Linked DNA regions of Homo sapiens: regions 2, 3 and 4 are each linked to region 1. Evidence: promoter capture Hi-C in human tissues and cell types (Jung and others, 2019). All regions are on one chromosome and are shown on one strand. Each heading gives the region's core, a stretch centred on a gene start or on the middle of the fragment in contact. The rest is flanking DNA. Distances are from core to core; before and after follow the strand shown.

The links. The method cuts DNA at HindIII sites, captures the fragments that hold promoters and counts their contacts. A contact is called where the count stands out against the background at its distance.
Region 2: a contact is called between a fragment that was not itself captured here and the fragment with the promoter of CALY in region 1, in 2 of the 25 tissues and cell types used here (IMR-90 fibroblasts and aorta).
Region 3: a fragment that was not itself captured here is called in contact with the fragment with the promoter of CALY in region 1 in 1 of the 25 tissues and cell types used here (dorsolateral prefrontal cortex).
Region 4: a contact is called between a fragment that was not itself captured here and the fragment with the promoter of CALY in region 1, in 2 of the 25 tissues and cell types used here (lymphoblastoid cells and spleen).

The regions. Positions count from the first base shown.
Region 1 is chr10:133,335,500-133,338,534 of GRCh38, reverse strand. CALY (calcyon neuron specific vesicular protein) reads left to right here and starts at 1,639. Exons shown (of 6, transcript NM_015722.4): 1 at 1,639-1,701. All of the region lies in intron 5 of ZNF511-PRAP1 (ZNF511-PRAP1 readthrough), which reads right to left. RefSeq lists an enhancer at 2,709-3,035. The HindIII fragment of the contact is 49,503 bases long and covers 1-3,035 here.
Region 2 is chr10:133,498,103-133,501,137 of GRCh38, reverse strand. The region is part of intron 4 of LOC105378575 (a long non-coding RNA gene); the gene reads left to right. Among named protein-coding and RNA genes, the nearest start is that of CYP2E1, 28 kb to the left of the region's middle. The HindIII fragment of the contact is 6,536 bases long and covers 1-3,035 here.
Region 3 is chr10:133,482,100-133,485,134 of GRCh38, reverse strand. No RefSeq gene overlaps it. Among named protein-coding and RNA genes, the nearest start is that of SCART1, 30 kb to the right of the region's middle. The HindIII fragment of the contact is 7,104 bases long and covers 1-3,035 here.
Region 4 is chr10:133,463,971-133,467,005 of GRCh38, reverse strand. It overlaps SCART1 (scavenger receptor family member expressed on T cells 1), which reads right to left. Exons shown (of 12, transcript NM_001396050.1): 7 at 2,095-2,400; 8 at 1,832-1,900; 9 at 1,441-1,755; 10 at 625-771. Among named protein-coding and RNA genes, the nearest start is that of SCART1, 12 kb to the right of the region's middle. The HindIII fragment of the contact is 5,558 bases long and covers 1-3,035 here.

The sequences.
Region 1 (3,035 bases), core at 390-2,889:
TGTATGGCTGGTGTGTGAGGCGTCTGTCTGAGGGGTGTGTGGCGTGTGTGAGGTGTGTGTTTGGGTGTGTCTGGTGTGTGAGGTGTGTATTTCTGGGGTGTGTGTCAGGTGTGTGTCTGGGGTGTGGGTCAGGTGTGTGTATGTCAGGTGTGTGGTGTGTGTGTGTCAGGGATGTGTTTGAGGTGAGTGTGTTTGGGTGTGTCTGGTGTGTTTCTGGGGTATGTGTCAGATGGGCATCAGGTGTGTCAGGTGTGTGGGGGGGTGTGTTTGGGTGTTTCTGCTGTTTAAGGTGTGTGTTTCTGGGGTGTGGGTCAGGTGTGTGTGTCAGGTGTGGGGTGTGTGTCAGGGGTGTGTGTGAGGTGTGTTTGGGTGTCTGGTGTGTGAGATGTGTGTTTCTGGGGTGGGTGTCAGGTGCGTGTCGTGTATGTGAGATGTGTGGGTGTGTCTGGTGTGTGAGGTGTGTTTCTGGGGTGTCAGGTGTGTGTGTGTGAGGTATGTCTGGGGTGTGTGTGTGAGGTATATCTGGGGTGTGTGTGAATTGTGTGTTTAGATGTATTTGGTGTTTGAGGTGTTTCTGGGGAGAGTGTCAGGTGTGTGTGTCTGGGGTGTGTGTCAGATGTGTGTTTCTGGGGTGTGGGTCAGGTGTGTGGGGTGCGGGTTAGGTGTGTGGGGTGTGTCTCAGGTGTGTGTGTGTCTGGGGTGTGTGTGAGGTGTGTGTCTGGATGTGTCTGGTGTTTGAAATGTGTGTTTCTGGGGGCTGTCAGGTGTGTGTCAGCTGTGTGTGTGTCTGAGGTGTGTGTGAGATGTGTGTTTGGATGTCTGGTATTTGATGTGTGTATTACTAGGGTGTGTGTGTCAGGTGTGTGTGAGGTGTGTGTTTGGATGTATCTGTTGTTTGAGGTGTTTCTGGGGTATGTGTGTCAGGTGTGTGGGGTGTGTGTGTCAAATGTGTGCCTGGGGTGTGTATCAGGTATATGTGTTGTTGGGTGTGTGTGAGGTGTGTGTCAGGTGTATGTTTCTGGGGGTGTGTCAGGTGTGTGTGTCACGTGTGTGTCAGGTGTGTGTCGGGTGTGTGTGAGGTGTGTGTTTGAATGTGGTGTTTGAGGTGTGTGATTCTGGGGGTGTGTCGGGTGTGTCAGGTGTGTGTGTGTCTGGGGTGTGTGTGAGGTGTGTGTGGTGTGTGTGTCGGGTGTGTGTTGGGTGTGTGTCTGGGGTGTGTGTGTCTGGGGTGTGTTTGGATGTGTCTGGTGTTCGAGATGTGTGATTCTGGGGTGTGTGTGTGTCAGGTGTTTGGGGTGTTTGTGAGGTGTGTGTGTGGGGGGTGTTTGTGTGAGGTGTGTGTCTGGGATGTGTGTGAGGTGTGTGTTTGGATGTGTCTGGTGTTCGAGGTGTGGTTTCTGGGGATGTGTCAGGTGTGTGTGCATCAGGTGTGTGTATGAGGTGTGTGGTGAGGCCCGAGCAGGGTCTGAGGGGCGCATGCGCGGCTCCCTAGCCGGGGCGGTGGGTGGGGGTAGAGGGTGCGGGACCAGAGTCGAGGCCCCGCCTCTAGCCGCGTTTCCATGGCGACCACAGCCTCGGTCTCGCAGCTGCAGCCCCCGCCCCGCCCGGCCGCGAAGCGTCTGGAACCGCATCCTCCGCATCCACATCCGCATCGTCGTCCTCCCCGACCGCGTCCTGCAGCAGCTGCCAGTGGAGCCGCCTGTGAGCTATTTCCACATTTCTTGCAGAATGTGGGCGGGGGGCCCGAAGGGGTGCGGGGGTGCGAGGCGCGTGTGCGGGTGTGTGTGCGAGGTGCGTGTGCTCGCGAGTGCGCTTGTGCGTGGCGCGCGTGCGGATGAGGGTGTGAGTGCGTGTGTGCGAGGCGCGTGTGCGGGTGCGAGTGTGCAGGGCGCGCTGCACGGCCGCCCTCCTCCCTCGGGCCTCCTCTGGCTGCCCCAGGCCAGTCCGACCCCGCGGACCCGAGGGCGGTGGTCTCCAGGCTTCCCGTGACGGCGGGGCCCCGGCACGAGGATCGCAGCCTGGAGTTAAGGGTGTCTCCGAGGTGGGGAGGGGGTACCAGTCCCAGCTCCCGCCCAGCTCTGTCCGCCGGAGGCGGGGTGGGGAGGGCGACAGAAGGGGCGTCGGACCAGAGCACCGAGGAGCCGCTGCCCGCACGGGGGTTGGGGGTGGGCGGTGGGCTTGATGGGGGCGTCTGCGTGACAGGCAAGAGGTGGCCAGGAGGCCGGGAGGGGCGCGGCTCCGGAACCACCTGCAGCAGGCTCGGGTGCGGGGCCACAGGTGGCTGGGCTGGAAGCGGGAGCAGCTGCGCGCCCACTCCCCTCCGAGGGGCTGCGCCGACCCCGCAGTGCAGCTGCCTTTTAATAAGCGGGGCAGCCACAGCCCCCTGCAGCGCCAGGGGCGGGAGGCTGCGGTGGCGCCCGCGGGGGCTGGGCGGGACCCTCAGATCCGCAGTCACACGCGCTGGTGCCCGGCCCGCACAAGCCCACCTGCGCGCACCCCCCAGCGTGACGCAGCATTCCATGGTTGGGGGGGGCGCATGCGGAAGCGAGTCTGTGACGTGACCTCCAGCCGAGCTTCCGTGGACTTTCGACTGAGAGCCTGCACCCCCGCCCCCGCCATCCATCTGTCCATCTGCACGGCCTCACTCACCCGCGCCCCCACCCATCTGCCATCAGCATCCCACGCCTTCCCCGCCCCAGAGACAGGAGCCGGGCACTGCCTCCCTGCCAGAGCGCGGCGGGTGGGGCGCAGGGGACCCGCAGAAGATGCCGCGACAGCGCAGGTGCAGGGAGGGGCCGGGAGGAGAAGCAGAGGCGGCCCCCCAGTTCCACGAGCCGCGTGTCATCCGTGGGAGGAGGCCCCCATGACGCAGCAATGCAAAGGGAAGGTCTGGTGTGTGGGGTGGGGGGGTTGGACCCCACACACAGGCTAGTCCCCCCTTTCCAACCCCGCATTCCGCCCGGGGCGCTGGGCCCGGAACCAGAAGCGAGGCTCCAGTGGGCCCCCAATGGCTTTTTCTTCCTGAAGACGCGTCT
Region 2 (3,035 bases), core at 233-2,732, 160 kb before region 1:
TTGAAGAGCCTTGCAATTGCTTTTCTCTGTATGTCAGATCTAATGGTGGGAGCCACAGTCACTCAACTACAAAACTTAAATATAATGGTAACAATTGGATCCCGAGGTGGCAGGGGCCAAGTGGTGGCACTCAGCTATCAAAAGCAAGGTGGGCATAGCTATCATAATGGACAGCAGAGGCAAAGCGGCAATCAGAATAGTCTGACTCGTGTAGAGCTCTGGCATTGGCTAATTAATCATGGTGTTCCTAGAAGTGAAATTGATAGAAAGCCTACTGCATTCCTACTTAATTTATACAAGCAGAAAACTTCTAGGTCGAATGGATAAAAGACTAATTTGAATTATAAAAATGTAGAATCATGGCCTCTTAATCAATTTCCAGACTTGAGCCAGTTTACAGATCCAGAACCACTTGAATGAAGGGGAAGCCAAGTTCCCATTAGGAAGGACCCTACTACATTACCAGCAATTTATGCAGTGAATCTTTCTCCCATCCTTCCCCAAGGAGACCTCTGGCCTTTTACCAGGATAACTGTGCGCTGGGGAAAGGGAAATGATCAGACATTTCAGGGACTACTGGACACTGGCTCTGAGCTGACATGGATTCCAGGGGACCCAAAACGTCATTGTGGTCCTCCAGTTAAAGTAGGGGCTTATGGGAGTCAGGTAATTAATGAAGTTTTAGCTCAGGTCTGACTTACAGTGGGTCCAGTGGGTCTCTGGACTCATCCTGTGGTCATTTCCCTAGTGCGAGAATGCATAATTGGCATAGACATACTTAGCAGCTGGCAGAACCTTCACATTGGCTCCCTGACTGGTAGGGTGACGGCTACTGTGGTGAGAAAGGCCAAATGAAAGCCATTAGAGCTGCCTCTACCTAGAAAAATAGTAAATCAAAAACAATATTGTGTCCCTGGAGGGATTGCAGAGATTAGTGCCACCACCAAGGACTTGAAAGACTCAGGGGTGGTGATTCCCACCACATTCCCATTCAACTCTCCCATTTGGCCTGTGCAGAAGACAGATGGATCTTGGAGAATGACAGTGGATTACCATAAGCTTAACCAAGTGATGATTCCAATTGCAGCTGCTGTACCAGATGTGGTTTCATTATTTGAGCAAATTAACACATCTCCTGGTACTTTGTGTGCAACCATTGACTTGGCAAATGCCTTTTTCTCCATTCCTGTCCATAAGGCCCACCAGAAACAATTTGCCTTCAGCTGTCAAGGCCAGCAATATACCTTTACTGTCCTACCTCAGGGGTATATGAATTATCTGGCTTTGTGTCATAATCTTATTCAGAGAGAACTTGATCGCTTTTTGCCTCCAAAAGATATCACACTGGTCCATTACATTGATGACATTATGCAGATTGGATCCAGTGAGCAAGAAGTAGCAAACACTGGACTTATTGGTGAAACATTTGCATGCCAGAGGATGGGAAGTGTATCTGCCTAAAATTCAGGGACCTTCTACCTCAGTAAAATTTCTAAGGGTCCAGTGGTATGGGGCCTGTAGAGATATTCCTCCTAAGGTGAAGGATAAGTTGCTGCATTTGGCCCCTCCTACAACCAAGAAAGAGGCACAATGCCTAGTGGGCCTATTTGGATTTTGGAGGCAACACATTCCTCATTTGGGTGTGTTACTCCAGCCCATTTATTGAGTGACCTGAAAAGCTGTCAGTTTTGAGTGGAGTCCAGAACAAGAGAAGGCTCTGCAGCAGGTCCAGGCTGCTGTGCAAGCTGCTCTGCCACTTGGGCCATATGGCCCAGCATATCCAATGGTGCTTGAGGTGTCAGTGGCAGATAGGCATGCTGTTTGGAGCCTTTGGCAGGCTCCCATAGGTGAATCACAGTGGAGGCCTCTAGGATTTTGGAGCGAGGCCCTGCCATCTTCTGCAGATAACTACTCTCCTTTTGAGAGACAGCTCTTAGCCTGTTACTGGGCTTTGGTGGAAACTGAACGTTTGACTGTAGGTCACCAAGTCACCACGCGACCTGAACTGCCTATCATAAACTGGGTGCTTTCTGACCCATCTAGCCATTAAGTGGGTTGTGCACAGCAGCATTCCGTCATCAAATGGAAGTGGCACTAGGGAAATGACCACAGGATGGAAGTGGTATATATGTGATCAGGTTCCAGCAGGTCCTGAAGGCACAAGTAAGTTACATGAGGAAGTGGTTCAAATGCCCATGGTCTCCACTCCTGCCACCCTTCCTTCTCTCCCCGAGCCTGCCCCAACGGCCTCATGGGAAGTTCCCTATAATTAGTTGGGCCTGGTTCGTGGATGGTTCCGCATGATATGCAGGCACCACCCAAAAGTGGAGAGCTGCAGCACTACAGCCCCTTTCTAGGACATCCCTGAAGGACAGTAGGGAAGGAAAATCTTCCCAGTGGGCAGAACTAAGAGCAGTGAACCTGGTTGTGCACTTTGCATGGAAGGAGAAATGGCCAGATGTGTGATTATATACTGATTCATGGGCTGTAGTTAATGGTTTGGTTGGATGGTCAGGGACTTGAAAGAAGAATGATCGGAAATTGTGACAAAGAAATGTGGGGAAGAGGTATGTGGATGGACCTCTCTGAGTGGTCAAAAACTGTGAAGATATTTGTATCCCATGTGAGTGCTCACCAATGGGTGACCTCAGCAGAGGAGGATTTTAATAATCAAGTGGATAGGATGACCACTTCTGTGGACACCATTCAGCCTCTTTCCCAAGCACCTCTGTCATTGCCCAATGGACCCGTGAACAAAGTGGCCATGGTGGCAGGGATGGAGGTTATGAATGGGCTCAGCAATATGAGCTTCCACTCACCAAGGCTGATCTGGCTATGGCCACTGCTGAGTGCCCAATTTGCCAGCAGCAGAGACCAACACTGATTCCTCGATATGGCACCATTTCTCAGGGTGGTCAGCCAGCTACCTGGTGGCAGGTTGATTATATTGAACCTCTTCCATCATGGAAAGGGCAGAGATTTGTCCTCACTGGAATAGATACTTATTCTGGATATCGGTTTGCCTATCCTGCACA
Region 3 (3,035 bases), core at 331-2,830, 150 kb before region 1:
GGCCAATATCTCTTGTGTACATAGATGCAAAAATCCTCAACAAAATACTAGCAAACTGAATTAAACAACACATCAAAAAACAATAACCATGCTCAAGTGGGCTTTATCCCAGGAATGCAAGGATAGTTCAACCTACACAAATCAACAAACATCATACATACATCAGTAGAATGAAGGGAAAAAAACATGATCATCTCAATAGATGCAGAAAAATGTTTTGATAAAATTCAACATCTCCTTCATGATAAAAACTCTTAATAAATTAAATATATAATCAAAGTAACTCAACATAATAAATATATATGACAAACCCACAGTTAACAGCTTATTGAATGAAGAAAAGTCGGGGGGGCATCCTTGTTTCAGTGCTTAGAGGAAAAGAAAGTTCTAACTCTTAGTACTGATAAATTTAGTAAAGTTGCAGGATTCTAATATACAAAAATCAGTAGCATTTCTATACGTGACAATACAGTTTAGATATTTGTCCCCTCCAAATCTCATGTTGAAATTTGTTCCCCAATGTTGGAGGTGGGGCCTAATGGCAGGTATTTGGAGCATGGGAGCAGATCCCTAATGAATGTCTTGGTGCCATCTTCATGGTAATGAGCAAGAACTGATTATATTTTAAAAGCCTGGCACCTTTCTTCCATCTTTCTCTCTCCCTTCACCTCACCATGTGAGGCAGCTCCGTCTTGCCTTCTTCCATGAGTGGAAGCTTTGAGGCCCTCACCAGAAGCATATGCTAGTGCCATGCTTCTGTTACAGCCTGCAGAACTGTGAGCCAAATAAACCTAATTTCTTCATAAATTACCCAACCTCAGGTATTCCTTTATAGCAACACAAATGGATTAAGGCACATGAACAATGAACTAGCTGAAAAAGAAATCAAGAAAGCAATCCCATTTACAATAGATACAAAAAAACAGTGCCTAGGAACAAATTTAGCCAAGGAAGTAAAAGATCTCTACAGGGAAAACTACAAAATATTGATAACAAAATTGAAGAGGATACAAATAGAGAGATATCTCATGCTTATGGATAGGAGAATGACAATACTACCCAAGGCAATCTACAGATTCAGTGCTATCTCTACCAAAATACCAATGACATTCCTACAGAACTAGAAAAAAAATCATAAAATTTGTATGGAATCACAAAATATCCCGAATAGCCAAAGCAATCCTGAGCAAAAGGAACAAAGCTGAAGCTATCATCACATTAGCAGACCTCAAAATATACTACAAAGCTGCAGTAACCAAAACAGCAATGGCATGGTACTGGCATAAAAACAGACACATAGACCAATGGAACAGAATGGAGAACCCAGAAATTAATCCACATATCTACAGCCAACTGATTTTTGACAAAGGTGCCAAGAATATTCACTGAGGAAAGGACAGCTTCTTTAATAAATGGTACTGGGAAAACTAGATATTCACATGCAGAAGAATAAAACTAGACCCCTTTCTACTCTATACAAAAATCAACTCAAAATGAATCAAAGATCTAAATGTAAGACCCAAAACTATAAAACTGCTAGAAGAAAACATAGGGTAAATGCTTCAGAACATTGGTCTGAAAAAAAAGATTTTATGAATAAGACCTTGAAATCACAAGCAACAAAAGCAAAAATTAACAAATAGTGTTATATCAAACTAAAAGATTTTTACATGGTGAAGGAAACAATCAAAAGAGTGGTGAGACAACCTATAGAATGGGAGAAAATATCTGCAAACCAATCATCCAAGAAGTGATTAATATCCAGAATATAAAAGAAGCTGCAACATCTCAACAGAAAAAAAAAGATTTAAAAATGGGCAAATGATCTGAATAGACATTTCTCAAAAGAAGACATGCAAATAGACAACAGGTATGTAAAAAAAATGCTCAACATCAAGAATCATCAGGGAGACACAAATCAAAACCACAATGAGATGTCATCTCATCCCAGTTAGGACGGTTATTATCAAAAAGACAAAAAAATAACAAATGGCGGCAAGAGCGCAGATAAAAGGGAACTCTCGTGCACTGTTAGTGGATATGTAAATTAGTACAGCCATCATGGCAAACAGTATGGAGGTTTCTCAAAAACTAAAAATAGAACTACCATATGAACCAGCAATCCCACTGGGTATTTATCCAAAGGAAAAGAAATCAGTATATCAAAGGGATACCTGTACCCCCATGTTTATTGCAGCACTATTCACAATAGCCAAGATATGGAATCAACCTAAGTGTCCATCAATGAATGAAGGGATAAGGAAAATGTGGTATATATACACAATGGAATACTATTCAGCCATAAAAAAGAATGAAATCTTATCATGTGCAGCAACATGGATGGAACTGGAGGTCATTATGACAAGTGAAATAAGCTGGCCATAGAAAGACAAATATTGCATGTTCTCACTCACATGTGGGAGCTTAAAAAGTTGATCTCATGGAGGTAGAGGGTAAAATGATAGTTACCAGATGCTGGGAAGAGTGTGGGGGAAGGGGATGAACAGAGGTTGTTAAGGGGTACAAACATACAATTAGACAGAAGGATCTGATCATCACACACGGGTACCCGATTTGATCATCACACATGGGCACCTGATTTGATAATTACATTACTCAGCAAACGTACACCCTTATTTATGCATTTTGTTGTTTGAAAATATTACCTTAAAAGGAAAAATAACTATAAACAAATGTTTAATGATATGCACGCAGAAGTATTTAAGAAGTGAAATGATGTTTGCAACTGGCTTTGAAATGCATAAAATAGATGGATTGGTGATGGACACAAGGATAATCAATTAAACAAAGATAATAAGTTAATGACAGAATGTAGGTGATTGGTGCATAAATTAAAGAATGAGAATGCCCTTCTCTGAAAGGAAGTAAATCAGTAAAGCCCCATGTATTTCCTGCAGGTCATTAAAAAGAAAGGCTGGATAACCCCATCTCTCACCCTTTATGGTGCCAGGACCACGAAACCTCACACAGGGAGGAGAGCATTTCTCATGTTTTCCTTGACCTCACACCAAGAG
Region 4 (3,035 bases), core at 536-3,035, 130 kb before region 1:
CAGCAAACCACATGATGCTTCCCAGTGGGCCCCAATGTGCTGCCTGGGGGAACCTTCTAGGGTTGAGCTCAGTCTTGAGGGCTGGAGGCTGATGCAGATGTCTGCCACTCTCTCTGGCCAATAAAATGAGCCCTAAGTGAGATCAGCCTGCAGGCTGAAGCAACTCTGCCCTGAATGCTGATCCACCGTGTTGACTTCTGACCAACTCCAGTTCCGGGAAGGCCTCTAAGATTTCTATTTTATCTACTGTTCCTTGCATAAGAGCATGCATTCACTGTAAATCCTGCCCTTAAGCAATTGTCCTACATGTCCCCTTCCCCTGAGGTATATAAGTTCTAGTTGTGAGGGATGATAATATGGGCATCCACCGTCTCAGCTAGAGGCCATCCAAGGCATGGACATGGCTTGTCTTCATAAGTCCCTTTTAAGTGTTTCTTTCTAAGGAACTGGATTTGTCTGCCTCTTTCTTCAGCTTCTCAGTTCCTTGGACTTTGGGGGTAGGTCTGCATAGGCCTGACTGCTGTGGGGCACCCCGCCTGCCCAGACCCCAACACCAGGCTGGAGCTGTGAGCTGCTCTTGCTCCTGCACACCAGTTGATGGGATCAGGGTGGGCTCACGCTTACCCCTCTGCATGGCTTGTGTGACTCGAGGCAGAATCAGAAAAGCCATGAGGCCCAGAAGGAGAAGACCAAGAAGGGATCCCAGGACGACACTGACCACCCAGAATGTCCGGAAGGGAGCTGCAGGCAGTGGGGGGCCTGGGCCAGGCTCTGAGAAAGGAGAGGTCTTGAGCCAGCTGGGTGGTGGGGGGGACCTGCACACCCTCAGCAGGACAGGGTGGCTCCAAGGGCCCAGCCACACCCTCTCCCTCATGGAGGACCTGCGAGTCGGAAGTGCTGGGGGGGCATCTGCTGGTTTCAGCTGTGCAGAGCACCCCAAAATGGCTAGTGTCCACTGGGGGTGTCTGCTTTCAAGGGACAGCCCCCTTCCTTGGTAAAACATGGCCCCCAGGCAGATGCCAGGGCAAGTCACAAGAGGTGACCAGAGCACAGAGAATGGGAGTGGCTCAGGGAAAGTTACCACTGCTGCTGCTTTTGCTAAGGTCATCACTGTGGTTAACTGTTTGTTTTCTGCAAAGAGAATGAGGTGCAGGGAACAACTGAACCTGCCAACACCCAGGTGACACATACCCGAAATGAACAAGGATTGGAATAAACAAAAGGGAATTCCCAAAAAAGATTAGGGGGAAACCCCAGGGAGTGCATGTCCCAAACAGGCCTCCACAGCAAATCAGCCTATCCCAGAAAAATCCCAGGGTGGAAACCAACCCACTAACACCTGGGCGAGCTCTCCTGCCCACCGAAGTGACACTCAAGACTGACTCCATCCCAGCGCCCTCTGCCGGCCCCATGACCGACTTCCCACCGCCCCCCACTCACCCCAGCAGCGCACGCCCGCGTCCTCCTCGTGCGCGCGGTCTCCGCGTCCCCACCGCTCCGCAGGGCAGCCCCACAGGGACGCCTCGCTGCCCCGGCACCCCACCTCGTCCAGCCACACGGGCCCGGAGCCAGGGCCAAAGGCGGCGGCCCCCAGGGCGGCGACGGCCCGACCACAGCCCAGCTGGCGGCACACGACCTCCGCGTCCGCCAGGTCCCAGCCATCGTCGCACACGGTGCCCCAGGAGCCCGCGTGCCAGAGCTCCACGCGCCCGGAGCAGCGGTCCTCGCCCCCGCGCACGCGCAGTGCGCCCTCCTCTGCAAAAGGGGCTGCGGTCACTGCGGGGGCTGGACCGGGATGGGAAGGAGGACAGCGACAAGGACAGAGGGGTACCTGGGCAGCCGAGCCAGGAGGAGCAGTTGAGGGGCTCCCCAGCAGCCTGTGGCCTGTCCTCTGACAATCCTGCGGGTTAAACAGCAGCTCTGAGAGCTTCGGTGCCCAGAGAAGCTTCACAAGGAAGGCTGTGGATCCTAGTGACCCCCAGGCCCAGGCTCTGATTGAATGGCATCCCCTGTAAGTGACCTGTCAGGACAGATAAACCTCTTCCCAGGCACCCCCAGAGACCTCTAATGCCCACCTGCACAGGTAATCCAGACCTGCTCTCGAAGGTCGCAAGAGTGCGGGTGCCATGGGTGGGAAGGGCATTGCCACAGAGTGGAGTTGGGCAGCCTGCGGCACTCGATGTTGTCCACCCAGGCGGTCCCGGTGCCCGCAGAGGGGAAGGGCCTGTTCTCCAGCCAGCCCCACTCCCCACACCCCACACCCCAGCTGCTTGCAGATGATGGACAAGGAGAGGTCCTTCAGGGCATTGCTGCACATGGCGCCCCAGGTCCCATTGTAGAACACGTCCAGCCACCCAGCACAGCAGCAGGTCCCACCTCGCAGCCTCAGAGCCACCGACTCTGCAAGGCAAGCACAGTCAGGCCAGGGAGTGCCCTGCCTGGGCACCATGGGCAGTCTCAGAAGGAGGGGGCTAAGCTCAAGGGGTCCCAGCACTGAGATCAGTTATAGAAACAGTATAGAGCTTCTTCAGAAAATTTAAACTAGAGCTACTACACAATCCAGCAATCCCACTGCTGTGTATAGACCCAGAGGAAATGAAATCAGCCCAGCAGAAACATCTGCACGCCCAGGTTCACTGCACGCCCAGGTTCACTGCAGCACCCAGGTTCACTGCACGCCCAGGTTCACTGCACGCCCAGGTTCACTGCAGCACCCAGGTTCACTGCACGCCCAGGTTCACCGCAGCACTATTGACAATAGCCAAGATGTGGAATGAGTGTAATGTCCAACAACAGATACATGGATAGAGAAAATACAGCATATACACAATGGAGTTACTCAGCCATTAAAAAAACAATAAAATCCCATCATTTGCAGCAATACGGATGGAACTGGAGGACACTGTGTTAAGTGAAACAAGCTAGAAAGCTAAATAGCACATGTTCTCACTCATAAATGGAAGCTTAAAAATGTTGATCTCCTAGAAGTGAAAAGCAGAACAGAGGATACTAGAGGTTGGGAAGGGTTGGGGGAG